7 separate regions of the Homo sapiens genome follow, and all the other regions are linked to region 5. Evidence: promoter capture Hi-C in 16 types of primary human blood cells and fetal thymus (Javierre and others, 2016). All regions are on one chromosome and are shown on one strand. The core of a region is centred on a gene start or on the middle of the fragment in contact, and the rest is flanking DNA. Distances in the headings are between cores, read along the strand shown. Region 1 has its middle 220 kb from the start of LINC00972. Region 2 has its middle 160 kb from the start of LINC00972. Region 3 has its middle 180 kb from the start of LINC00972. Region 4 has its middle 97 kb from the start of LINC00972. Region 5 holds the start of SEMA3D (semaphorin 3D). Region 6 has its middle 140 kb from the start of LINC00972. Region 7 has its middle 270 kb from the start of LINC00972.

Region 1 (3,660 bases), core at 517-3,016, 450 kb before region 5:
ACAATGTTGAGTTTGGTTTAGTGCATACTGGATTTGAGATACCTCATCATTCGTGCAGAGTTATCATACCCATTTTTAAATTCATATGTTTGACCTGGAGAGAAAAGACTAATACTAAGTGTATAATTTTAGATTCCTCTCAAAATTATGATGATGAAATCACAGAAGCTTATCATAAAGAGTAAAAAGACAAAGAGAGATACACACTTTGGGTGAACACCTTTAGGAATGGTGGAAAACACACCAGGAAAAGAGAAAGCTGGGAGACAGAAAAGAAAGGAAAGTAGAAAAAGAGCCTAAATACATAATATTGCATAAATAAACACAGAAACAAAATTTTTAATAAGTGGGTGACATTATTGAACGCAGAGAGAAAATCTTTGTTATTAGCCATTGGAAAGACACTGTTGACTTTGAAGATAGAAATATTTTTCAGATTAGGGAGGGGGTAGAAAACCGCTTGCAAATGGTTAAGTAGTGGTGAGAAAAATCATCAGCAACTATCAATTAATTTTGTGAAATGATTAGTAGCCTAAGGAAAGAGCTCTAAATCCTGGCTTGATTCCTTTGTGAAAATATTACTCCCTTGTGTAATATATTAATGTAAAAAAGAAATAAAGAAGGAAAAATTGTGGGAGAAGAGAGGTGGTTGACAGGATAAGTCAAAGCCATATGCCGAATGAAATATTTCCTTGGAGAAATTTTGGCATAGAAGATAAAGCATTTGTTTGATCGTATTATCCTTCGAATGTCTACAAAGAGCAACAGAAAGAGGGATAAATGGCATATGTACCTTCTTGCCAGATAATTTTTTTTCTTTGTTTCTTCTGTTCCCTTAAGTGAAGGCAATTCCTGGTAAACAATTACCACATGAACTTGAAATGATAGGTGCTTTTATAAAAGTGAGTGTGTGTGTTGGGGGAGTGTGAGTGCATGGGGGTTGCAGAGGGAACATGCTAGCTCTGCTAAAATCTCCATTGTCTGTCTTCCAGACATTAATGCATTAGTCATTCAACTCACTGTATGAACAGATCACCTCTGTGATAGAAGAGGAACCCCTAAAACTTTCAATTCTGTCTCAAAGGAATGTTTCAGGCCAATGGAAGAGAAATATTTTTAGAATTTATTCATTTCCATTCCTCTTTGGCAGGCATTGAAGCAGCTTGACAGAGGCAGATATTAAAAATTCAAATTAAGTAAAAATATCTATTTTAATATCTTCTTAATTTTAGGACAAAGAGGTCACCAGTGACAATGCTGCACTAAGAGAAGCATTGTACTAAATAATCAGTAAGTCAACAACATGCATACTTTTTCAAACTCTAAGCAAGCATAGAAGTTATATTCAGTAGAGCAGTAAATAGCAGAAATATACTTCTCAACATCCAAGCCCAGGCCACTTCCATCACCGTATTTTTATTTTTCATAAAATTTTTATTCTTGCTTCTAAAGAAATTAAAGATGTGTTTTTGGTGTATTTTCTCTTTATTCACTGTATGTTTAGCACAATGAATGTTTTAATGATCATTGTTCTTATAACTGCATCTTCAGGATATCTGAAAATAACTGGACTTCATTTAAAAACTTTGTATCTTTGAGGGATTTCTATGCCATTTAATTTATTTTAATTTGTACATTTTTGTGCCATGCAAATCACTATTTAAGAGTAAAGATTATGAAAAATGCATAGAGTCCTATAAACAGAGATAGTGGTAACAGCTGCAACACAAAAGAGCAAGAGACTGTTTTTGTATGCCATTCATAATTTCAAAAGTCACTGTGAGCTGTTGAGTGAACATGGGAAATAATCCATATTTTACTGCAAAAATAAAATAACATGATTGGAAATATATTCTAAGAGTCAGCTTTTTCACCACTTACTAAAACTGAAAAATGTGTAACTTTAAAAAAGTTCTTGCATACATGTTATATTTAATGAATTCCAGATGATAATGCCAGTAAGACTTGGTACTGTTTTAAAACTCATTAAAAAATAAGCTAACAAAGAGCTAATATTCAGAAAATCAGGTGTTGTCTAGTGTCATTTAAACTCTCATCTTCTAGAGTCTATGAATTGCTCCTAAAATTACAATCTGTTGATAAACCGTGTTTTCTGGGTATTGATGGAAGTGTCAGGAATTTATGGGGTCCAGGATGCACATTCATTGGCTGTAATAACAGCTTTCCTTCATTCATCAAAGAAACATGAGTGCCCAGTGTGGAAAATGTTTTTTTCCCTCAGAATATTACTCTGAATTGAAGATCATTAAATGGGAGCTAGGAATTGAACATAGAGTGTGTAGGTATATCTTGTATTTTTACATTTTTTTAAAAAAATCAAAGTCAGGTAAAATTTAAGTACCCCCCTTCTTTTCAAAAAAGGACATTATGTTATTTTTTTAAGGTCAACAGAAAGGATCATGGTTTAAAGTCCAGCATACACATATGCCCAAAGGTTAGTGTCATCTCTTTCCCAGTCACCAAATCCATCTAACTCTATTAAGTCCTTCAAAAATAAACACAAGCCAAGGGTTTTTATCTTGGACCTTGCTTCTCTCACTTTTGCTAATATATTTAACACATGGTATTTACAAAAAAAATTTTATGTGGACATAGATATCACTACATAGTCTTTATCTCTGTGATGGTACTTCCTCAATCACATGAAATTTCACTCTTTACTATGTCATGAGGTTTAGTTCTGTTTAACTGGGTTCATCCATTAGGGACCAGGGAAGAAAATAGAAGCCATTCTGGACATTCTAAGCAGCAAGATATTTGACTCAAGGAATTAAACCGCTTAGGAAGTCATTATAATTGCTAAAAAAAAAAATAGGCTCCTGGAATGCATGACTTCCTTGAATATCTCCATAAATAATACAGCATTGAACCACTATAGCAGTTACTCTTCTGAGGCTATACTGAGAGCAAGAAACAACCACTATCATTCTGTAAGTATCTATTATACTTAGGAAGCTGGGGAGGGGACATTAGAATACCACTGTGGGGAAGCCCCATAAATCTATACTGCTAGCTTGCTGTGATAGTCAAGAGCCACAGGAAGCTAAGTGTAACCTCATTTTTGCCTTCCAAAATTTCATCAAATATATCCAATGAGCAAAACGCATTTTACATTTAGAACCAGGAAAGGACTCTGGGAAATTTTGTGTTTTAGCTTTTTAACCTCTGCAAGTAGGAGGAAATGGTAGTTAAAAGTGGCAATCCTAAGTACCCAGCTCTCATCTGAATATAATAGAGTAACTCACCTCAACTGACAGCAAACCAGTTAGGTGTATCAGTAGCCAAAATCTACAAGTCTAGTCATCATCTGTCATGGTAGCACTCACAAAACAGACTAAGCTTAATCACATCAGAAGATTAAGTGGCAGAATTTCTCATGCTCTTATATTTGATTAAATAATAAAACAATATTTAAGGATTAAAAATGTCTTAATTTCTTCACAGTAAGTCAGATACAATCCTCAAGACCCTTTGTCTAATGTTATTTTTGTTATAATAATGATGTTGTGGTTTTCATGGCCTCAGAGAAAACTTGTCCATTCTCATCTGCATAAACCCACAGCAACAACCATTGCCAAATATTTCTATTGCATGTCCTTATTGTCAAATACTAATACCTAAACTTGGCACTGTTGGGTT
Region 2 (3,898 bases), core at 205-2,704, 390 kb before region 5:
AAGAGAAGAAAGCTATATGTGTATATATTCATACACACATATATACACACATGTATATATATATGTGTGTATATACATACATGTTTATGTTTAAAGCTACATTTAGATTATACCTTGCTTTCTGAAATTTGGTTTAAACTCTGATTTGTAACCTTTCAGTACGGACTAGAATAGCACACACATACAAAAACATGGTACTATATCTGTTACTGTGGAAATATAACAATCACACATTTAACTATATGGAATCAGCAGAGATTAACAGCAAGAGCGAGCAAGGGTGCAACAGAATGAGAGAGAGAGAGACTCTCACTGCCATTATACTCAATGACTCAATGACTCAAGGACCATGTAACTTTAGTTACGTGGTCCAGGTCTACAACTACGTCAAGCCCACCTCAGCATGATGTAATGTTATTGGCAAGTGACATGTATAATCTCAATACTTTAAGAATTAAGAAATTTTTCAAAGTAATTATTTTTTCCAAACATTATTTTCATTTTAGGTACACATTGTGAAACTACACTTTTCAATCACACAAATCTGCAGTACAAACTCAATCAATTTTTTTTGAAAAATATAGTCAAGTGTTTATAATTAATTATATTATATATGTGTAAAAAATAACATATATAAATTAGACTAAAAGTACTACAGTATAAATTGAACATACTTGTCAAATAAAGTTTAGCTGGAGTAATTTATTTTTTTAATCTGCCCATTTATCTAATAATTAAAGCATAGACATCATAAATTATCAGTCACATTATTTGCAAAGGTTGTATGAGCTTAATGGATTTGCAAAAGAAATAATCAAAAGAAAGATTCCCTGGGTACACTTGGATATGTCTTATTTTGTAGTGTCTAAATGGAAATATAATTTTGCTAATTGCAAATTTTATTTTCCAATTAGAACATGAACCAACACATTTTTAAACACTGTATTAAATCTTCATTTGTTTAAGATAATCATTGTTTTGTTCTATAAATTCCCAAATAAATTCCCCGTTGCCATGGGTGGAATACATAATTGGTGATCTTTCTTTCCTTGTCTCTCCAAACCCATCCAAAAGCCTAAAGAGAAATTATTTGAATGGAGTAATGTGAATTGTAAAAAACTTCCCTAAGCTAAAATCCTTATCAAGCAACTTTAACTTTTGAGTAAAATCCAACCAATTAAGGCTATGAATGTGAATGTTATGAATCAGAATCACTGATGCAAATTTTATTTGTCCAATGCTTTAAGCATAAAAATTTTGTGAACAAAATGGGGTTTGAGAACCTTAGGCTCATACCCCAGTTTCAGTCTCATTGTGAATTTAAGGAAAATTTCAAAAGCATGTGTACAATATAGCTATTATTTCTATAAAGGCTTCATAGTTTATTTTTTTGGGAAACTGTATTTGTATTAGAATTTTAAAAATACTCATAAGCCGGTCTATCCTTCCCAATTATTTGTTTTTCAAAATGACATTTGGCGCTTGATGTACATGAGACCAAGTTTTACCTCAAAATTTTTTATCACTTACAGGAAAAAACAGTCTCTTTGTCAGGTATAGAATTGAATAAACTTTTAAAAGAGAGAGAAACTTACCAATAACGGAGTCTCTGTTATGTGTCCTTTAGTATCTTAAGCACCACCACAATATTTCTCATTCATGCTATGAGTCAAGTTATTATTATTATTTCTAGTTTACAATTATTGGAGAAATTAAGTAAATTGCAAAAGATCAAATGCTAATAAATTGGTTGAACTCAACTCATTCCTCTTTTTTTTACTAAGTCTTATTTGTTTTCCAATTAGATTAATGACTTGTAATTCAACCATTTAAAATGTGGAAAGGACTGGGTCTGTGATTTTCACTATATTTGATAATAAGAAGAAAAATCCAATAACAAAAACAACTTATATGAATTTAGTGTGCATTATATTCTAGGAACTATATTAAGTAGATTATTTTGTGAATTATTACATTCAATCATTACAAAACAACATGACATAGGTATTATTTTATAGAGGAGAAAACTGAGACTTTAGATGTAAATGAAGAAAACACAGTTTATAAATCATAGGGCACAAATTTGAACACAGATTATTCAGATTATTCTGACTCAAGAGCACACACAGGAGTGTACCACTGGCAATGAATGATGTGTTATGCTTCTGCTTATACATGCCTAAAACATCCTTATGAGCCTTGGGAATCCAACTACCGTGACCCTCAGCCATATACATGCATACAATGAGTATTAACTGGTTTAAAGTAATTTTTAAAATGTCCTGCCTTTTAAAATTCAATCCTTTTTAATGAGAGAGAGAAACTGTTAAGACTGAACATGTTAAGACTGAAGAAAATATACAGAATACATATGATAAATTCCATCAGGCCATCTTCTGATTATTGTCAATGATTCTTCATTAGAATAAAGATAGGCTTAAAAAGTATTTTTGGAAGATGCAGACTGTACAAGTTCAAAGTTTATTTTGTAATTACAAGTTTTGATAAAATAATGATCTTGCATATGTAAACTGTGAAGGGTTTTAGTTAAGGTAACATTACAAACAAAATTATTATGGTTTCATTTGTTTTTATTTTTTTACGTTTAGAATAAACACACAGTAAATCAACTTTTAAACTCACTTTCTTTTTCACTTTCTTTTTGTCAGACAGTGTTTTACATAAATTGGCATCTGTATTTTTGAGTATGCGTTAGCTCAGCTTTTTTATTTCTCAGTAACAGTACAGAGAGAATGTCTAGTTTTGTCATTCACGGTTTATTTTTAAATCTAAGATAGAGATAATAGATGCCTGAATTTTCTTTCTAAATTGTCTTTTCTTTTGAATGCATTTTGGCTTTTCAGAGTTTATGATTTCTTAAACTGGTCACATGGAAAGAAATTTGCTTATATATTTTTTTCTGATATTACGCATCTTAGGAAATACTTGAAAAGTATAAGGCCTTTGGCAAAACAAAATAAAAATATTTTCCCAGGAATTCAAGATTATTTTATTTGAAATTTAGGGATTCTAATAATTTCCATTATTATTATATTAAGATTAGTCTTTTTATCTATGAATGAATTTTTCACTTTCTTTTTACTACCACTTATTTAGTTGAGAAGTTGGTAGTTATATTAATTTTGCTATGTTCTAAATATTACATATTTTCTTCTGCCTGTTTTTAATTTTTGTTTTGTTTTGTTTTACTTTTCTTTGTCAGTTTTACTATGATGTGCATGAGGTTTTTTGGTTGACTGGTTGTTTTTGTTGCTGCATTCTTGTTTAGTGCTGGTAGTGCTCCTTGAATTTGCAGCTTGCCCACTTTTGTCAGTTTGGGAAATTTCATAACCATTGTATCTCCAAATATTGCTGCTGCCCTTAGTTTTTATTCTCCTTCTAGGACTATATGTGTTGGACCATGTGTGTTTCTTAGAATCTTGTGTGTGTGCTGTGTATAGCTCTTTCTCTTTCTGCACTTCAGGCTGTAAAATTTTCACCAATCTTTTATTCAGAGGCGTCCTCATCAATATTATGTTTCTGTTCTTAAACTACCCATTATGTTCTAATATAAAAATTAATAATTTATATATATTCTTATTCTCTTCAATATATTTTTGTAATTTCCATTTCTGTAGCAAAATTATGTATTTTGTCATTGAATTCCTTGATGTTTATTCGAAAAATCATGTAAGATAATTTCAATATCCAAGCTTCTTATGGTCTGTTTCTTGCATATATTTTTAACTTGACTTTCGTCAAATCTTGTGTTTTGCATGGTAATTAATGTGGGGGCAAACATGGTAGATTTAATAAAAGGTAGTGATCATCTGGTCCTCTAGATTATGATATTTTTTTCCCAAGTATGTTTATGTTTGCTTCTAGCAGGCATGTCAGT
Region 3 (4,029 bases), core at 649-3,148, 410 kb before region 5:
TCATTCATTTATTTAATATCCCACTGATATATAGATAATAGTAGACCCAAGTACTGGTTAAAAGTATGTAGATAAATTAAGAAATTGAGGGAAAAAAGTGAAGGATATAAATCCTATGATATCCATTTGTGAAGGCAATCTAAAGAGGCTCAGGATACTTACCGCTTACCAGATGTTTGACCTTGGCTGCTTAGCCTCTTTGTACCTCAATTTCCTTTTTTGTAAAATTAGGATAATAATATTTGCTTCATAGTATTGTTATGAGGATTAAGAGAATCAATTGCAGATACTTAGAATAATGCCAAGCACATTGTAAGTGTCCTAATCAGTATTAGTTTTTATTGTAGTTATAGCAATGCCTTTAAAAAATAAAGAATTGGAATGAATATATTTACACTGAGTCTCTACAACACAGATTATTTTTGTTGCTTTTTGCCTGTGTGTATAGCTGCTCAGGCTGTGCACCACACAACTCCACAAATGCCATTTGCATAATGGTACATTGCAATGAGGCAGCGGAAGTAATTCACCACTTGATAAAGTATAAAGCTTATTTTCTACTTAAATGAATACTAAATGTTATTCAAGACTCCTGGAATTATGCCAGTTGCTTTTTGATTTATAGTGAGAGAATCAATGGTAGGATCAATCATAAAGAGGAATGAGATCAAAAGCATTCACATACATAAGCTTTAAGGTTAATTTAGAGAGTTTCAATAAAATGCAGTAAGGCATGATTAGAGTGTTAATTCAGCTTTTGCAATAGAAAAATGTATAATACAAGGTTATGCAGTTACTGACAACTCAGTAAGTAAACAGTACCTAAGTTGGAAAACTCATAGTTCAAAAACGCAAGGTAGGATTAGTGGGTTGATAGTGAATTTTAATACACTGGATAAAAATTTAGATATTTTATAACTCAGTCTATTTTTATACTCTACCATCTTACAAAATAAATAGCTAGATATATTTTTATAGTGAAATTCATGTTTTAACATATTGTCATAATTAAAAGCTATGCCTCCATTACTCAATTATTGTGACTTTTATATCTTATATAGAGAGACATGTAAAAAATCTAAAAGGAAATAGCCATAATTGATATATTTTGCACATAAGAGAATTCTGAAAGCTTCTACTTATTAACTTGTTCATTTATGGAGTACAATCCATTCAAAAATATCTTTTTTAGATTTTCTCATTTCAAATTCATCTTTAGTCACTTAATATAAATCTCTTTTATTCCAGCTTATTTGGGGTGGGGTATATTTGACTTTTTAGTATGATTCAACTTGTCTAGAAATGTATGAATATGTATGATAGAAATGTATGATATGATATACAGGAGACATAGAGTATGGTTGCAAGGTATGTCACAACTAATTTTACCTGTGAATGTTTTACTTTTATTCAAATGAAATATTAAAAATAAGGACAAATTTGGAGTCATATGATTAAAAATAATGTCTACATTCTTGCCATTATTTGCCTTAAATGAGATAATTTTATAAACACCTTAGTTAAACAGTAAGAAATCAAAATAACAGAGTATACAGTCTTCAAAAAGAGGACAGCAAGGTCAAAGTGCAACCCTTCTCTTTTTTTCCTCCTCTGGAGAGTGAGCCAGCAATGTCACTTCTTGAGGCCTCATCCTCAGTGAAGAAATTCTTTTAAAAATGCCTTAAAACTTGAAGCTGTTCAATCGTAATATAAATGTCTTGATAAATTTCTGCTATGCAGAGTCTAGAGATAAGGTTAATTTGCCATCTAGTATAACTGGGAGCACAGACGAGTGGTTAGCGTTGTTTTACTTCACTTACCACATTATATATGTACATAAAATAGCTAATATCAAGTAAGTATTCAGCATTATCTGCTATTTTTATTGAACCTTTATTCAATATACATTAAACTTTGAATACTATATTTTATAAACAATGGATATGTTTTTCAACTGGAAGATTTCTATATATGTTTCTGAGTTTATGTTTTACAAATTGCCATTAAATTCTTTTTTTAACTTTCCTGATGCTTATCTCATTTTCCCTATCATAATTTTATACAGAGATTAAATGATCAATGAATTAACTTGTTAAGACATCTTGTAAAATGAAGAATAAAGTTAATGAGGGGAATGTCTGTATTGACAGCAACCTCAAATAATATAATTATAATATAAAATATTAGATATATTTTCCTATTTATCTACTTTAGATGCCCAGAAAATTACTCTTTAGCTTGTATTATAGGTCAAATATGCGGAATGATAGATTTAGAGCCAACTGAATATGAAAAGGAGGATTAAATAAGACTATATTTTGAAATGATTTTTCCTTTAATGTAATATGAAAATTGCACCCAATGTATGTTATACAACTTTTTCTTTACAAACACCAATCTCAATATACTACATCATTTTTATTGCAATTAGAGAAAACTGTGACTTCTTTCCATATTTTTATAGTTAAAGCAGCATTATTGTATTTCATCAAAACTAGTACCAGTGTCTTTTGAGAATAGAGTCTATAAATGCAAGAAACAAAGCTAAATAAAATTACCCATGGTTGATATTGGAAGGAAAAAAAGGAAAGGCTGGCTTTCATTCAACTTGACTTACATGATGAGATTAAACAATAACACATTTGAAGGTATAAGTGAAGCTTGGTGAAATTCTTATTGCTAGAATGTCAACTTGATTGGTATAATCGTTATCTATGTATAAATACAGAGTTTCAGAGAGCTACAACACTTGGCTTAGTGATCTGAGAATCCAAATTAGAGTGCCTAGACTGCCTGGAGCCACAGGTTTAAATCCTGTCAACCAACCCCTTCCTTTTTCTGAAGCAGATAAACTAGGTCCAAAAAGCCAGCTCTTTGTGTGAAGTGGGGATATTTCAATGACACCTCCAAATCATAGCCTGGCTATATTTTACAGATATTTAAGATTATTTTGTCTGTTTGTTCAATAGCACAACTTTGTATTTGCAACAATTCTGGGACTCAGAACAAAACACCAGGTACGCCTATAACCACCTGCTCTCAATAGGGTATTTAAAATTCTTAAATATTTTTATTTGTTTCATTGACACTGGAATTTTTTAGAGGAGATAAAGATAAAAGGAATAATTTTGTACAAACTCCAGGAAGATGACCTTTGATAATAAGATATTTATAAACTACTTTGATCATCCAGTTAACAGTTGAAAGGGAAAAATAAAGCATCAATTGGGAATATACAGTGGAACTCCTAGGTCAGAAAGCAAATGAGATTCAATGAAATACCAAAGCTATGGTACTCAGGGGAGCTTTAATCACTCAGACATCTGTTAGGCAGCTAATGCAACCAGGCACGCACACCTCATTAAAGGTAGTCCTCAGTTATTCAGATGACAACGTAATGGTCCTGAATAGTAAGAAGAATTTAACCAGTGGGCTAAAATGTCTTGATTTACTTTTTCAAAAAAATCTGAGGGTGAAAACAAATATAACAAAATTTGCCTTTTTTCAGAAGAAAAGCAAGAATATTGTTCAAGTAAAATAGCATACTTTATTTCAAGAAAGTAAAGTGTTCAATAACTTTATTAAAAAGGTAAGTTAGGTTATGAAGAGAATTAATAAAGAATAACAAGAACGAGGTCAGACAATCTATACACTTCCCATGTGACTTGATGAAAAGAAACTAAAAATTCCCTTCAAGAGTTACAAATAAAAATGACAAAATAGATAGGTAGATGAATAAGATTCTTTTCTGGTAAGAAAAGATTTATTACAAATCGTTTTTTTCCTACATAATCTTTATTATTTTTCTTAGCTAAAATAATTAGCGGTGTTTTTTTAAAAAAAAGTTATTAAATAAGGAAGGTATTTTAAACAAGTACCAGAGGATTTAGAAGCTTCTAAATTGTGTCTCATGTACTGAGTTTACTGAAAGCATTGATAAACCTTGAAGTTAATCCGCCTGCTTTGGAATAACTTACATGCCAATTAATCATCATCGCAATGAACAAAATCTACTGAAAATATTACCTT
Region 4 (3,874 bases), core at 1,270-3,769, 330 kb before region 5:
CTCCACAATGCTCTTTGTGCCAACATAATCTAGTATAAAATAGTAATAAAGAATCATTTTTTTCTTGCTTATAAATTCTGGCAGTACAGTATACACATTTTAAAAAACAGAGTGTCATTAAATAGAACATTATTCATTATTCTTTAATAAATAAAGGCAGTAACATGTCACACAAATGTTTGAGCTTCAAAAATATGCAGTCATGTATCTCTAGCTCAATATGTGAGCCACAGTTTCATTAAATACTGACTACTTAATTTTTCTTTTCTGCTGAGGCAAATTAATGCACTAAGATCATATGAATTACATATAGCCTGTAGATGTCAAATGGTATCTCTGGATAATTGTTTGGGCTTATTTTTTTTTTTTTAAATTTACTATGTGTAGTAAAATCAATAATACATTTCACTGCATTGTATCTAAATTATTTTGTCTAATCACATGTATATTATTTTGCCAAATTTATAAAAGTTAGCTTAATTTTAGGAACAATTTTCCAAATATGGTTTCAAAATTGTAACACAAGTACTCCTGGGTCCATGACATTCTGGATTCTTTTGGCAAATATGGCTACAGATCCTTGATTAGATTTGAGCCTAAACATACCTACTCCAGTGAAGCTCTAAGTCTTTATTTCCATTAAATAGATGTGCTTGAAAAATGCAAATATGACCTAAATTCAACCATGTACTTCCCTTTTAAACACTATGAATAAATATTGTCAATCAATTGGTAGCTACTTTTAATACCTCAATGGTATTTTTGTTAGATATTTTATTTTTAGCAGAACAACGTGTGAAGCAGCTGAAGTCTAGTGATATTAACAGAATTTATCCATATCTCCTTAGTAGTAAACTGGTTATGCAGCCAGATCCAAATCAAATACTCCCGGACACTAGCTTATTGTAGTTCTTTCCACTATGCTGCAAAACATTATTAGGAATAAACATTCTTAAGAATTGTGCCGGCCGGGCGCGGTGGCTCACTCCTGTAATCCCAGCACTTTGGGAGGCCAAGGCGGGAGGGTCACGAGGTCAGGAGATCAAGACCATCCTGGCTAACACGGTGAAACCCCGTCTCTACTAAAAATACAAAAAAATTAGCCAGGCGTGGTGTTGGGCCCCTGTAGTCCCAGCTACTGGGGAGGCTGACGCAGGAGAATGGCGTGAACCCGGGAGGCGGAGCTTGCAGTGAGCTGAGATCGCGCCACTGGACTCCAGCCTGCGTGAAAGAGCGAGACTCCATCTCAAACAAACAAACAAACAAACAAACAAACAAAAATTGTGCCGTTTATGGTCTATGCCATTGAGGTACTTACATTCTAAAGAAGCATGTAACCTCTATACCACATATTTTGTACCAAAATTTTATATCACATGCTTAGCCATTGGATTTGGCATAGTGTTTTGTTGTTGTTGTTGTTCCCTTGTAATATAAATTACTCAGTTTCCTTCCTTCTTCTATCCTTTCTCCTGCTTTTCTTCCTCCTTCTATCTCTGTCTGCCTCCCTCCTTCCTTCTCCCCGAACTTTCTCCCTCATTCTGTCTCTCTCTCTTCCTCTCCCTTCTCATGTTCTTTTTCAAATACCAACTACAAATATCACACATATAGCACAGGCAAATGATAAGTTACTTTGATTTTTTAAATAATTTTCTATCATCTTATAAAGAATTATAGTTTTGCTTTTTCTTAAAAGGAAGTTATTCCATTTGTAATTTCTTCCAGAAGGGAATATATGCAACTGTTTTCTTGCTGCCAAGGTGGCCCATCCAAACATTTCTACTCCAAATGGAACAAATTGTATATTCAAAAATATGAGTAAAATTCTGAAATAAAGATTAATTATTTTTGTGCCATCCCTTGTGGATAGATTATTTTGCTTAGAAATCATATTTAATTTTTCTATAAATAATTTAGATATGTAACTCCTGCTAGAGTTGGAAAGCTATCTTATTTGTTCATTGTTTAAATATAAAATATTCTAAGTGTTCCCCCGAAATTAGAATTTGTTGGTTTTTTTCTAGTAGTTGAGTTTGAAATTTGGATTCTATCTTTATTTTACTTTCTAAAAGAAAGTATGTTCACTTTTGATTTACTGTGAAATTTTTTTATAATATGAGCATAAAGGTTTATATTTTCTAAAATTCAATCTGATTAATAGTAAACTCTTAAAATGTCTTTGCATGATAGATCATTTTAAAAACATTTCAAAAAAAAAAAGAAATCTTTAGAGGAAACTGACCTCAAGTATACCGTGGATCTTCTGTTTAATGGAGAATGATATCATGACAAAAAATGAAGCAAAAGAGAATCAGAAAGAAAACATAAATATTTTCTATGCAAAACCTAAAAGAATATTTATTATCTTAAGATGCTTTACTTGCTTTTTCAAGGGCAGAGATATGACTACAAGAATATTCATATGGGCTTCTCAGATTTTTAGTGTTACATTATCCTTAATATTTTTGGTTGATTGTTCATGCATAACTAATTTACTTTGAAAAAGAAAGTATCTTATGACCTATACTAGTTTATTAAATCATATATTTTAAATCGTATATTTTAAAGTATATGTTAAATTATTGACACATTTATTAAATTGTATCTGCTTTTTTCTGTTAATCAAATGTAAATTACTTGTGAATAGTCTCTTATTCTTTTAGGTACTTTATTTTGTATACATATGAGACTGATAAGTACAAAAAAGATATTTAATAAACTACTTATTTTTAATATATGTTTATTTAGAAACTTCCAGAAATTTTATTAGGAAATAATAAAGAACTAATGACAAGCCAGATAGGGATGGCGTCTCTATCTCATAAATATATAATATCATTCTAGTAAGTTGAAATCGACTTGGGAGTCCACCCAGATTTACATCATACTTATTTCAGTGAAAATAGACGTTTAATAATGATATGGTTCAGCATTTATTTTATAAAGATATCATTCAGCGATATAGTTTGATTCATGAACTCATTTTTTAAAGAACTAAAATATTTAATCTAATATGAATTTAAAACTTCAACTTTATATCTAGTAAAAACAAATTTGATTCCTTCAGTCCAAGTCTGACTCCTGTTTATAGACACCCTCCTATAAGAAAAGGAGGGACATAAAATTGTCTCTCACTCTTCTAGACTCAGGCCCCCATGCCCCACTCTACTTCCAGAGTCAGAGCAAAAATAAGGAGAATCTGGAGACCTAGAGATTCAGATATTTTTACTTATGCTGCTCTGGTCTCCTAGTTAACATTACCTAGCTACTCTGTGTTCTACTAAAAGAAGTGTCCAAATACTAACTCTTATATAGTAAATGTTTAGGTCCTTATAAGGCCATCAAGGATTTCCTCACTGCTGTCTTTTCTAACATGGATGTGTCATTCCTTGGCTCAGTTCTTGAAACTACTCACTTTCTGTCCCTAGCAGAACTACGGCCTCTAATGCTAAAGTCTTTGCAGTTCAACAGAAACCTTCTTAGATAAATATGGCTTGAAATGACCTTTTTGTTTTCACTTGGCTCCATGGAATACTCATTCATCCTTGCCACGCCAGAAGATGGCTGTGAAGGTTGCTGCTGCCAGTGCCCTTTCTCTTTGCCATGCTGTTAGACGCAGCTCCAAGCAACCTCTATTTAAAGAACTTCTCAGGTAGAAAGCAGCCAGCAGTCTCTGTATTCTTGGTTAGCTCAATGTTTTTATGGAATGCATGTCCATTTTGCCAAAAAGACCTTTCATAGCATTTGTCTCTGGTTTCTGTACTAAGGCAGGCAGTAAGATAAGAGTGTTCCCTTCTTGAAAGCCCATACTTATAAGAAATTCTCTTGTACCATACCTTTTGACTTTATGCAACTGTAGAATATACTCCTACAA
Region 5 (3,490 bases), core at 850-3,349:
ATTAACAGTTGATTCCATCTGCTTTGTGCTCAGAGTCATTAAAAGGAAGGAAAGCACAGAATTCACGTTCCAGATGTTGTTTTCTCATGATATGTTCAGGATACTCTGGTAAATTCTGTCTAAATTTGAAGTCTGAGCATCTCAAACTAAATCAGTACAATACAATGTCACAGGCATTGTATTAGAGGCTGAAGAAACAAAGACACAAAACAGCCAACACTTTTGTATGGGATGCAGACACATGCATAACTAATTATAATATAAAGTGAAAAGAGCTTATTATAGTAGTGAAATCAAAGTGCTTTGGGAAAACAGGAGGGAGTGATTAATTCTGTAAGGGCTTTATGGAAAGTATTGAATGGTAGCAAAGGAAGGTGTCATTTGGTTTAAGCATATTAAGCTACAACTTAAAAGAGAAAGGAGGAAAATGGGAAATCCAAAGTTAACCACAATTCTAGTTAAACACAAAATTCTGGCCAATAAACTGACAAAATTATTTAAAAGTTTAAAAATAGAGATTTTCTAAAAATCAAAAACTACTTACTATAAACCCACCATATACGGGAGAAAAAAAGAGATATTTTATTTGCACAATGACATTGCAATTTGCATGGAAGTGCAATGACATATACAAATGAAAATAATATAAACACATAGAAACATACAATAAACAATTGCATGACTATGTACAGAATGAGTGGTATAACATTAAATATAAAGCATTCAGAAAAAAAATAAAAGTTGCTATAGTTTGAAATAGTCTACGAGGATTTAAAATTTTTTTCTCTATCCAAAGAGGGTATTTATGGGGTTGATTGGTTGTGAGTCCAAACCAAGGTTATAGAGATGGGGCAGCATGAGACACAAGAAAGAGCCTTGGTCAGATTTGAGAAACCTGAGCCTTTCCTTAGCCTGACTCTGCCATCAACCATTTATAACTTAAAATGACTCCTTTAGCTTCTGTGGCCCTCAGCCCTCTGCCACAGATAAAAGGTCAAATGAAGAATGTCTTCCACCCCTTTCAGTTATTCCATTACTGCATTTGTCTGTTCACCATCTCCAAATCAAGATATCTCTTGTTACTTGCTAAGGAAGCTTTGGGACCCTACACCTTGTGCTCTTAAATCAAGCTGACAAATGCAGGATCCCGTGGCTGCTTGCTTTCCATGTCTCTACCTCATGTCAGATTTATGTTTGGGACTAAGGGCAAGGTGTGTGACTATAAACCTGGATATCCCATCACAAAGGATTTACCATGCAGCTAAAAATGCCTAACGTACAGGGCTCACCAAATGCACAGGCCTTTTTAATGTCCCTGACGGTGGCCTCATGAACTCTCATTGTCATATATTTTTGCAGAATCTGTAGAAGTGAGATATTTCTGCATTACTTTTGCTTAAAGAGGATCCTCTATTCCAATTGCATAGGATCCAGGTTCATCAAAACTTAGATCTTCTCGTCATTATATACTTCTAAGTTCCTACTGTGTGAATAAGGGGTGCAAAAATCTAAAAAACTCCCGAAGACAAGGATATGAGGCACACCTCTTTGTAGGTCTGGCGTAAGGGAAAGAGGAAGAAAGGATTACATTCTACTCGTTTTTATCTCTCCCTGTTTGGTCTTAATCGGGTGCCAGCCCCTTAACGGAGGGTTGATCCCTGTTCCTCATCCCTATGCCTGCCTTGTCAAGGCCATTAACCGTGGATTGAGGTTTTACATAGTGGAACGCAGGTACTGTTTTGTGGGATTAGCATTTTTAGGACGGTGTTTGTGGTCACTCTCCCTGTTTCTTCCTCATGGGGTCCCTTAACAGGTTTTATGGTATAGAGAAGGAACTAAAGAAGTCCCCAAGTCACCCAGAAGGAAGATCAGACGTTAGAGGTTGCTTTACACATAGGGTGCCCTGTCCTGATAAACATCCGTCAGCGCTTGGCCAGGGCTACCTCTAAATCCACGCTGCTGGCAGCCTCCGCGCAGCAGGGATGAACTTCTGCACGCTTGGGAGTTCTGGCGTGCGCAGTGGAAGGAGGGGGCGAGGGCTGGGGGAGGAGATCGGAAGGGGAAAGGTAATCCCCGGCGTTTTCAGCATCCTCTTTTTAGAAAGACTGAGTCTCTCCCAGGACAGCTGCTGCGGTCACACCACAAACTTAAAAGCCGCCCTCCTGTTTGGAGCGTGCCTTTCCTCGCCACCCTCTCCTCCCCAAAGCTCCAGCTGGTGCCTTGCTCTCCGCCTGTCCTAGCGCGGCTCTCGGGGGAGGCAGCAGCGCCCCCTGCCTCCCGGCCTGGCCCCTGCGGCCGCAGCTTCCCGGCTCTGCCAGGGCTGCCGGCGGCTCCGCTTGCTCAGCCAGGGCTGCGGCTCAGAGGAACGCGCGCCGGTGCCCCGGGTTGCCGCGCCGCTGGACCTCAGCCTGCATCCCGTTCCCCTCTCCCTGAAAAGGCACCAGGAAAAGAGAGAGGGAGAGAAGAGTTCACAGCAGGTAAGTCTGGTTTGGGTCACCTGCTACTCCAGTGGGAGGGTGTGCTGGAGACCGCGGTGCTAAGCGGGGATAGCCGGGATTTGGGGGTGGCTGTGGGTCCGAAGTGGAGGACGAGCATGGTTTGGGAGATAAGGAACCGTCCTGAGACAGAGAAGGCTCCCGGGAGCGGACAGAGAGTGGGCGAAATCGGTGCGCAGTAATCGCGGCGCCAGCTTCAGCGCGGCCCCTGGGGCGCAGTCCCACCCCGCCTCAGCAGCTGCGGAGCCTTCTGACGAGCCTCCGCCTGGCAGCACTGCACAAAGTTTTCCTCCTGAGACGCGTCCAGGAACTTTGCTCTCTCCCTGGCTTCCTGGTTCCCCCACCACCCCTCCTGGTCTGGGCAGCAGAGAGCGTCTATGAATGTGTCCCCGGCTTCCGCAGGCTGCAGGTTCATTTGGAGACGCTTTAGTCGGGAACATCCGGGGAGTACTTGACCAAAGGGCATCTGCGCCCTCGCTCGCTCCTTTCCTTGTTGGTCTGGGAGAAGGGAAAGGGGCAAGGAAGAAGGAAGGGAAGCGTGGTGGTTTTTGTTGTAGCGTTTTGGAAGAGGAATGGGCGACGCCTTTTTCTTCGCCGGGGAATCGCGACGTTCCGTCTGATGGAAGTGTGCATCCTTTTAGATTTAGAGGGAAAGTTGGAGTCAAACAGCAGCCACAAAGCTGGCTGTCTGAAATGTGGTTAAGGCAAAACACTCGGGGGATCTCTTTGTAGTAGTGGGCTTGGCTCGCTTTGGAAAGGCCGGATTTGACTCGTGCTGGGCATTTAACCAGGAGTGCGGTCCCCAGGGTGTTTCCTCCCGGCTTCTGCCCAACGAGCCTGGAGTTAATGCGTTAATGGGCTACCCTGGTAGCGCACGGGCCGTTTTCGGCACTGTTTCTCCTTCTCTGATGACTCGAGTTCAACCTCCTGGGCTGAGTTGCTTTGCCTCCGTCACAGTGCAAGGAGGGAAGTTGACAGGAGGAGGAGACGCCGCG
Region 6 (3,609 bases), core at 875-3,374, 370 kb before region 5:
AAATGGGTTTAAAGGAATTCAAAACTATGCATATTTTAAAGAATAAAATGAGAGGATTATATATAAATACACACAAATGTAACCAAAGTTCTAATAGGAAATTATTAGATGTTTACACAATGAAATAAAAGGGAAAAATACCCGTATAATCAGAAGTACAAAACTCAGTGAAAATTAAAACTTATTTTATGTCAAAACAAAGAAAATGCTAGATGTGCAGTTCTGCTGCTATTATATGATTGAATTCACATAATCTAAAACCATCTATTTTTTTCTACTCTAAGCAATATCTTATTAGAAATCTCATTGATGGTAACCAAGAGTGGCATCTTCATTTACCACTCTCTTACAATTTTAATCAATTTAACCATATGTTTGTTGCAATCCCTCCTGGCTTTGCTGCTAAATAGACAGGAATTCCCATCAGTAATTACTCCGAAAAAGAAAGAAACCAGAAATCAGAGAATGGATCATAATTGGCTTAATGTTACACCATGGGTGAGCTTTATGACCAGGGGCAGAATAAAAAACCAGTGTTCAAAGGGATGTGACATATTTAGATGTATCATGGGCCAGCATCAATACTTATAAGGGGGTTATAATTCCACAGATAAAAATTGGAAGCTGTCATTTTTTAAAACAGTAAGTCAATGAGTTACATGTGTGACAGTATCACTGTTTAGGCTACTGTTGTGGCTAATTTGTTTGAAGCTAAAGCCAAACATTACTAGGCAATAAGAAGTAGAATGCTCCGTATATTAGTTGTTTATTGGTATATAACAAATTACAGCCAATGTAGCAGCTTAAAACAACACTCATTTATTATCTCACAGTTCTGTAGCTCAGAATCCGGTTTACCATAAGAGGTTCTCTACTCAGGATCTCACAAAACTGAAATCCAAGTATCAGCCAAATCCAATTGTCATTTGGGCTCAGGGTTCACTTCCAAGCACATTCAAATTGTTGGCAGAATTCACTTCCTTGTGGTTGTAGGACTGAATTCCTCAGCTCTTAGAGGATGCCCATCATTCTCTGACACGTGGCAGTCTCAACAACATGGCCTGTTGCTTTCTCAAAGCTAGTAGGTGAGTGTTTCTGGCTTCAAATTGCTGACTTCTTTTAAGAGCTTACATGATTTGGTTCGATTCTCCCAGAATAACCTCCTTTTTCAATAACTCAGTATCAACTGATTAAGAATGTTATATCTTTAAAACAACATCTGCCATATACCAGGGCATAATCATGGGAGTGACATCTCATCATTTTCATAGATTTTGCTACATTCAAGGGAAGGAGATTACATAGACTATGTAAATCAAGGAGCAGTAATCTTGGGTACCATCTTAGAATTCTGCCTACGATGTCCCATATATAAGAGATATGGAAATATAGAGATACGGAAATATGGAAATATGTGGGTTGGCCTTAAGTAGAGTGGTGGGAGGGGGTGCAGAGGCAGGGAAAGTATTGACTTCCATTCCAAAAGGGAAACTAGGATACCATCAGTCACCCAAATTGAAGCCAAATTATATGAGCCCTGCAAAAGCAGCAGAAATTAAACTCAAATGGCAAGTGAATATTTAGGGTTTATCCCAACAAGACACATACTAATATAAGATAATCTTGGATTATCTGGTTGCATCCATCCTCCTAAGTCCAATTATAAGTATCTTTTAGCAAACAGAAGAGAAGGTCATGCGAAGACACTGGCAGATACTGAAGTTATGCAGCCACAAGCTAAGAAGCACCTGGAGCCACTAGAAACTAGAGGAGACAAGGAAAGATTCTCTTTAGAGGCTTCAGAGAGAATGGCCCTGCTCACACCTTGATTTTAGATTTCTGCCTTCCATAACTGTGAAAGCATTTGTTGTTGTTGTTGTTGTTGTTATTTTAACCTACTAAGTTAATGGTAATTACTTACAGCAGCCCTAGGAAACTAACACACATTCCTTGGGGCCATGTGACTTGTGTTGACCAGTAAAATATGAGCATCAATGAAGACAGTCACTTTCAGGTGGAAGCATTTATTAGTACAGGGCCCTGTAGCAAGAACTGAGACAGTGATTGTGGACACGTGAATCAAGACGATGCTTCCATCAGCCTGTGTCTCTGACTGACTTAACATATTACTCCAGCTTATCTACTCAGGGTATGTATTAAAAGGCATCAGTAAATAAACTTTTGTGGTTTTAAGCTACTGAAATCTTTAGCCCATCATTTACTGCAACATGACTTAGTCCATATTCAAGATTAAACCAGGCAAAAGGTATTTGGGGATTAATAATTTCCTGTTGATATTAAAATGAAAGATTTTACTAATGCCCTCATAATAAATGTATTCCAAGTTCAAATTTTGCTCAGTAGAGGTCCAAAGAAATGTTAAAATGAAGGATCATAGGACTTGGCATTAAAAACACCTGTGTCGAATTTAATTATTCTTATTTTCTTTGGGCAAGTTCCCTGAGTCTCAATCCTTTTTTGTGCAATATATAAGTAGTAATGCTGGTTCTTTCCTCACTAAGTTTTGTGAGGCTGCAATCAGATAATTAATGGCAAACTTTGTAAACTATACAGAATTTCATACGTATAAGTGATTTCCATTCCACACCTGTGATGCCAGGGAGCTACCTACACCATCATATTTTGGGGCAAGTATCTTATGAAGTGGACAAAGTCTCAAACTTCACAAAGTGAATTATACAGATGCCTGATATTTCCATGTAGTCATGAATCCCAGTGACATATATCAGAAAAACGCTAAACCCAGAATAAAAGAAATACATTCTACAGACAAATCTGCTAAAGGGGTCTGTTTGTAATTTTTCCTTATCTCCAAGATAAAGGAAGAGCTTTTTTTGGCTTGGAGAACTTGCGCTATTTCTGGAATACAACTGAAAGAGGCTTCAGAAACAGAAGACAATAACCACATGCAGATATACCGGGCTTTGATATTTGGAGAGGCTCAAAACCTGTACAAGTCCCCCAAGAAGACGGTATTGGGCCCTGAGAAATCCTTAATCAGTAATTGATTTAGAAGATCAGGCTGAAGATACAGTGCATAATAGAAACAAATGGTGACCATGAGAGGAAATAAAATGACCTTGGAAAATAAAGTTGGAACAGCAAGAAATGGTGGAAACAATATTGGTTAATATTGGGTTATGCTATATTTGATAAGAAATAGGAGCAGTTTGTATGATTATAGTAGTTTCTATGAGAATTCAGTGTTCTTTGTTTATCTCTCCAATTAATTTCTGAGAAATTTAGTTCAGAGATAATATAATGATTTAGTTATGTCATAAACACAGGTTCTTTTTATCTTGCTACTTCACCGTCTTGTTCATGGCCTTCATTTTAGAAGTCATTTTGTGTCCTAACATGGCTGATGGAAATTGAGTCATTACACTTGTGTTCCAGCATCAAAAAGCAAAAAGGGTGAAGAAAGCCTACTATCTTCTTTTTAAGAAGACTTCCTCGAACTACTCCTAGACACTTCCACTTACTTATCATTGGATAGGAATAGTCACAAAGCCATTTCTAGTCATATAGCCACAGAGAGGCCAAACAAAACCAACCTGTAGCTGCAAGTCTTGTTACTTTGAGTATATT
Region 7 (4,061 bases), core at 1,144-3,643, 510 kb before region 5:
CAGGATACAGATATAGTTTTGAGCCCTACAACCAACACCATGTGGGGAAGATGCCTTAGCTTCCTGGACATTGAAAAGATACTAGATGATTCTTAATCACTTCATATGTTTCCATGCCCAAACATGGGATTAAAAAAAAACCACAAACAACTACTAAGGTGGTAAGCTGGTTAAGTTCATCTGAGCATGTCTACCATTTGAGGATCTCCTACTAGGTGAAAGACGATACCTTGAGCCATAGTATAGTATAGTGGTTAGGAGTACAGATGCTGGAATCAAGCTGCCTGGATTCAAATTTTCACTATACAAGCTTGGGCAAATCTCTGATCCTCTCTATGCATCAATTTTATTTATTTAATAGAGTTAATATAATTATTGAATCTTCCTTATGAGCTTACAGAAATTAATAATTAAGTTAAAATGGACAAAAGTGTTTGAAAAGTACCTGGTAACTGGTAGTTGTTATTTTTTATTAGAATTAAGTGCTATCTTTTGTGATGGTTTTGAAGATTTATTAGCTTAGATTATCACAGATGCAAGTTTGATTTTGTTACTTACATGATCTAAATCATAAAATAACCAAGATAAATATAAATTAATTATTATTTATAAATTGAGGCAGATTCAGTTTTGTGAGGCCTGGAGCTTACATAATTTGTGGGATTCTGTTTAAAAATAAAACATTATGAATTGAGTTACTGCATGAAAATGAAAATTTATATAAAATGGGAAACTAAATCACAAAAAATAACATATTATAACAAACTGACATATAGTACGTACATTACAAAAATCCAGAAAAATAATAAAAATGTGTTTTTAACTTAATTATCAGCCAGACACAATCGTAGGATACATTTTGTCCCACTATTTTTGGTGTAAACATCATTACCTTTTTATATAATAGTGTTTTTGTATTAGCTCTGTAGAGAAATAGTTGAAGTTATCTTTTAGCACAGATGAAAGAAATGTTTATAAACGATTATTTAGCTCTAGGATTTTAGGGTTGAGTATATATCTGAAGAGGATAAATTTGTTTTGACCTAAGTGTCAGCCAATGGAAAGACTTTTACAGACATCAATAAGTAGCTTAATACATTTCATGACATAAAACAAGTCTTTCATACTGCACTGCAATATGCTCTTTGGCTTTGTACCTCCCTGCCACAATGCTGAACAAGTTGGCACAGCACTTCTAGAAACCTTTGCTAGGAGGAGACCATGAGCAATAAGTTAACTATGCACAGAAGTGACTACAAATGTAAATAAAAAGATATTGCACTAAACTCCGACAAGATATATCTCAAACATGCCCTTAGGCAGATTCCAAAAATGCCCATGACTACTTCAAAGCCACTTGACATTGAAGTTGGAGTAAAGAGACAATAATCTCAAGTGATTTTTGTTGAAATAACTTACTTTGGTACATTGTATTGAAAATACAAGTACATGAGAATACATTGCTAGGTCCTCTGCAAGGGCCCTGGAAGTTGCTCATGCAAGTAAAAAGGCATGGAGTTTAAATTATAATCTTATACAGGTAAAACAGCTTTAAAAATCGGTACTAATATGGCACTAACTGCTGCAAAACGTAAGATTAGTTGTAAACGTGAGAAAAAATATAAGCTTCCTTAGAAGATAACTAAGCAGACCTTTCTTTCAATTTTACCTGGAGTTTTGGGGGAAAGTATGTTATTTAATAGATAAGAAATATAAATGCTATTTATGTTTTGGTATGTAAAAGTACACTGATATATTCTCAGGTAGAATTACATTTTTTCCAGGATACACATCATAAAAACTTTTATATAAGTCTCATGCTTGTGGTATGTTGCTTTGGTCTGCTCCCTCCAAAATCTAGTGCCATGAATTTATTTTCTTCTTAAAAAGAACCAGTAGGTTATATATTTGAAATATTTATGATGGTTTAAGAATAAAGAAAGGCTTTTCATGTTAAGATTTTTTTTGTGTGTCAATAAAATAGAAATGAGTCCAGTAATATCAATGCAATATTAAATTTAAAAATACACCAAATTATCTTCAAAATATTGCTATAAAAAATTTATATCATTTTGTTTTGAAACACTTCATTCAAGAAACTTCATTTCATACTACTTCTGATTAAATACATTGACTTCAGATTATTGAACATGATTTCAAAAAACAGTGGCACAATAATAATTCATGGTTTGCCCAAGGTAATAAAATTTTGGAAACAAGATTACTATTGTCTCATGCAGAACTGTCTTCTCCCAAAACAATTAGCAATTCTCTCATGCAGAAATGTTCTCCCAAAACGAACTGAACACACTCATTGAACAATACATTTTCCATACATTTCTTTATAAGAAATAAATATATGATTTCAATAATAGTGTCACTAATTTATTTATATATATTTGAAAACTATAAGATTTAAAACTTAGGATAAAGTAAACATAATTATTTTGAGTGCTAGCATTAATTTCAAGTGCTTGATTAACTACTGCTTTTAAAAGCCAGGTGTATGCCATTTTGCATTTTATAAGAGCTAAAAGTATAGAAAAAGCCAGAAGCTATAATTTACTAGCCAATAGGCCAAACACTGTGTATGGTAGTGAGGATTAATTTTCAAAACCCTGCATCATATGATTTTCTGCTATCAGTAAACCCACTGTTTTATCACAGACATGTTGAGTTAGGAAAAATTTTCCCCAAATCATTAACTTTCTTTTTATGCTCTGAACCAAAATCACTTCCAGGAAAAAAAAAAAATGTGCTTAATTGCTGCCTAAGGAAAGTTTTCAATAGCAATTTGGTCTTTTTATAGGATGAAATTGCTTTTGGCATTTCAAAACACTCTTCTCACTTTGAAACCAACATAAAATCTGATTACTGTAATAGGACTACCATGTGCTCTTCTCTATCAAAACCTGATTATGGTAATAGGACTACCATGTGCTCTTCTCCATCTATAAATGCCTGCAGTCTCATGTACTCATGTACTGAAGAACCACCTGGATCACCATCACAAAATGGAGAACAGATGGACAAGAGACGTGCAGCATAAAGAAGACAACTACAGAGAATAAGACACATTATCATTAAAAATCAAGCTAAATTTATTATACATCTTCCTTTACATGATTTAAATTTTAGTATTTTGGAAAGTAAAAGCTTTCAATAAAAATTTCCATAAATACAATCTCCTTCCACTGGAAAGTGTCATTTGACATCATTATTATAGTTTAGCAGTGGAATGGATTATCTCTTGAAGATGTAAAAATCACTTAAAGGAATGCACAAAATGTATGAAATATGTATAAAGCTACTGTATGAAGCAGGCCATCAGTAACTAAGTGGTTATTAAGGGTGCGCGCATTACAGGCCATAGAGTAAGAATGTTAAAGGGAAGTGGCTGTTATAAAACATGGGTTGGTGACAACAGGAAAAGGACAGGGGAAAAGAAATAAAGGACAGTTATTTATTTATGAGATCTCAGCAAAAAATGCCTGAGATCCCAAACTTAATTGGTTGACTCAGGCTTCTAAAGCACATAAGAAGGCTGAGAAAATGGAGAAACAGGCTGCACAAATTAGGTGACTCCTTCTTGAGCTCAGCATTATGTGGAAACATCTAATTGAATAATTCACTTTGTGGGATTACAAATAATTACACAATTTTTATTCACAGTGTCTCATCATGTAATTATAACCACCTTCCTTTAGAGAAATTACATATTTCAATTTCATAAGGTATGAAATGCTATAGTTGTAAACAATATGAAACAAAAATTCTCAGACAGGGCCATCAATTACCTTGATTTTAATGTGTTTGGTGTGTTTACATGGCAAAAAGAATTATTTTTATTTTTAAGTAACCAGGATATGTTTCCAATATCACATCACATCACTGCATATTCTTTCTATAAGCAAATTTTATCATTTTTAGAGAATTACTATTATTATAATGCCATGACATGGCAATAATAATTTGCCTTGTAGATGTTTTTGCTGATACGTTAAACTTCTCAGAAGACATCAGTTTCTCTTTTGAATACTAACCCAAGAACCTGAATTCTA

Evidence for each region. The method cuts DNA at HindIII sites, captures the fragments that hold promoters and counts their contacts. A CHiCAGO score of 5 or more calls a contact.
Region 1: a fragment that was not itself captured here is called in contact with the fragment with the promoter of SEMA3D in region 5 in 1 of 17 cell types (megakaryocytes); the score reaches 5.1 in megakaryocytes.
Region 2: a contact is called between a fragment that was not itself captured here and the fragment with the promoter of SEMA3D in region 5, in 2 of 17 cell types (megakaryocytes and naive B cells). The highest score is 5.9, in megakaryocytes.
Region 3: a fragment that was not itself captured here is called in contact with the fragment with the promoter of SEMA3D in region 5 in 1 of 17 cell types (megakaryocytes); the score reaches 5.9 in megakaryocytes.
Region 4: a contact is called between a fragment that was not itself captured here and the fragment with the promoter of SEMA3D in region 5, in 1 of 17 cell types (naive B cells). The highest score is 6.4, in naive B cells.
Region 6: a contact is called between a fragment that was not itself captured here and the fragment with the promoter of SEMA3D in region 5, in 4 of 17 cell types (megakaryocytes, naive B cells, total B cells and 1 more). The highest score is 25.2, in megakaryocytes.
Region 7: a contact is called between a fragment that was not itself captured here and the fragment with the promoter of SEMA3D in region 5, in 1 of 17 cell types (megakaryocytes). The highest score is 5.7, in megakaryocytes.

What each region holds. Positions count from the first base shown.
Region 1 is chr7:85,637,784-85,641,443 of GRCh38, reverse strand. No RefSeq gene overlaps it. Among named protein-coding and RNA genes, the nearest start is that of LINC00972, 220 kb to the right of the region's middle. The HindIII fragment of the contact is 3,192 bases long and covers 171-3,362 here.
Region 2 is chr7:85,577,756-85,581,653 of GRCh38, reverse strand. No RefSeq gene overlaps it. Among named protein-coding and RNA genes, the nearest start is that of LINC00972, 160 kb to the right of the region's middle. The HindIII fragment of the contact is 4,523 bases long and covers 1-3,715 here.
Region 3 is chr7:85,596,310-85,600,338 of GRCh38, reverse strand. No RefSeq gene overlaps it. Among named protein-coding and RNA genes, the nearest start is that of LINC00972, 180 kb to the right of the region's middle. The HindIII fragment of the contact is 1,528 bases long and covers 1,135-2,662 here.
Region 4 is chr7:85,516,358-85,520,231 of GRCh38, reverse strand. No RefSeq gene overlaps it. Among named protein-coding and RNA genes, the nearest start is that of LINC00972, 97 kb to the right of the region's middle. The HindIII fragment of the contact is 9,231 bases long and covers 1-3,874 here.
Region 5 is chr7:85,185,665-85,189,154 of GRCh38, reverse strand. It overlaps SEMA3D (semaphorin 3D), which reads left to right and starts at 2,099. Exons shown (of 19, transcript NM_001384900.1): 1 at 2,099-2,477. RefSeq lists a silencer at 2,228-2,287. The HindIII fragment of the contact is 2,551 bases long and covers 1,098-3,490 here.
Region 6 is chr7:85,557,765-85,561,373 of GRCh38, reverse strand. No RefSeq gene overlaps it. Among named protein-coding and RNA genes, the nearest start is that of LINC00972, 140 kb to the right of the region's middle. The HindIII fragment of the contact is 5,073 bases long and covers 1-3,609 here.
Region 7 is chr7:85,692,996-85,697,056 of GRCh38, reverse strand. No RefSeq gene overlaps it. Among named protein-coding and RNA genes, the nearest start is that of LINC00972, 270 kb to the right of the region's middle. The HindIII fragment of the contact is 1,530 bases long and covers 1,629-3,158 here.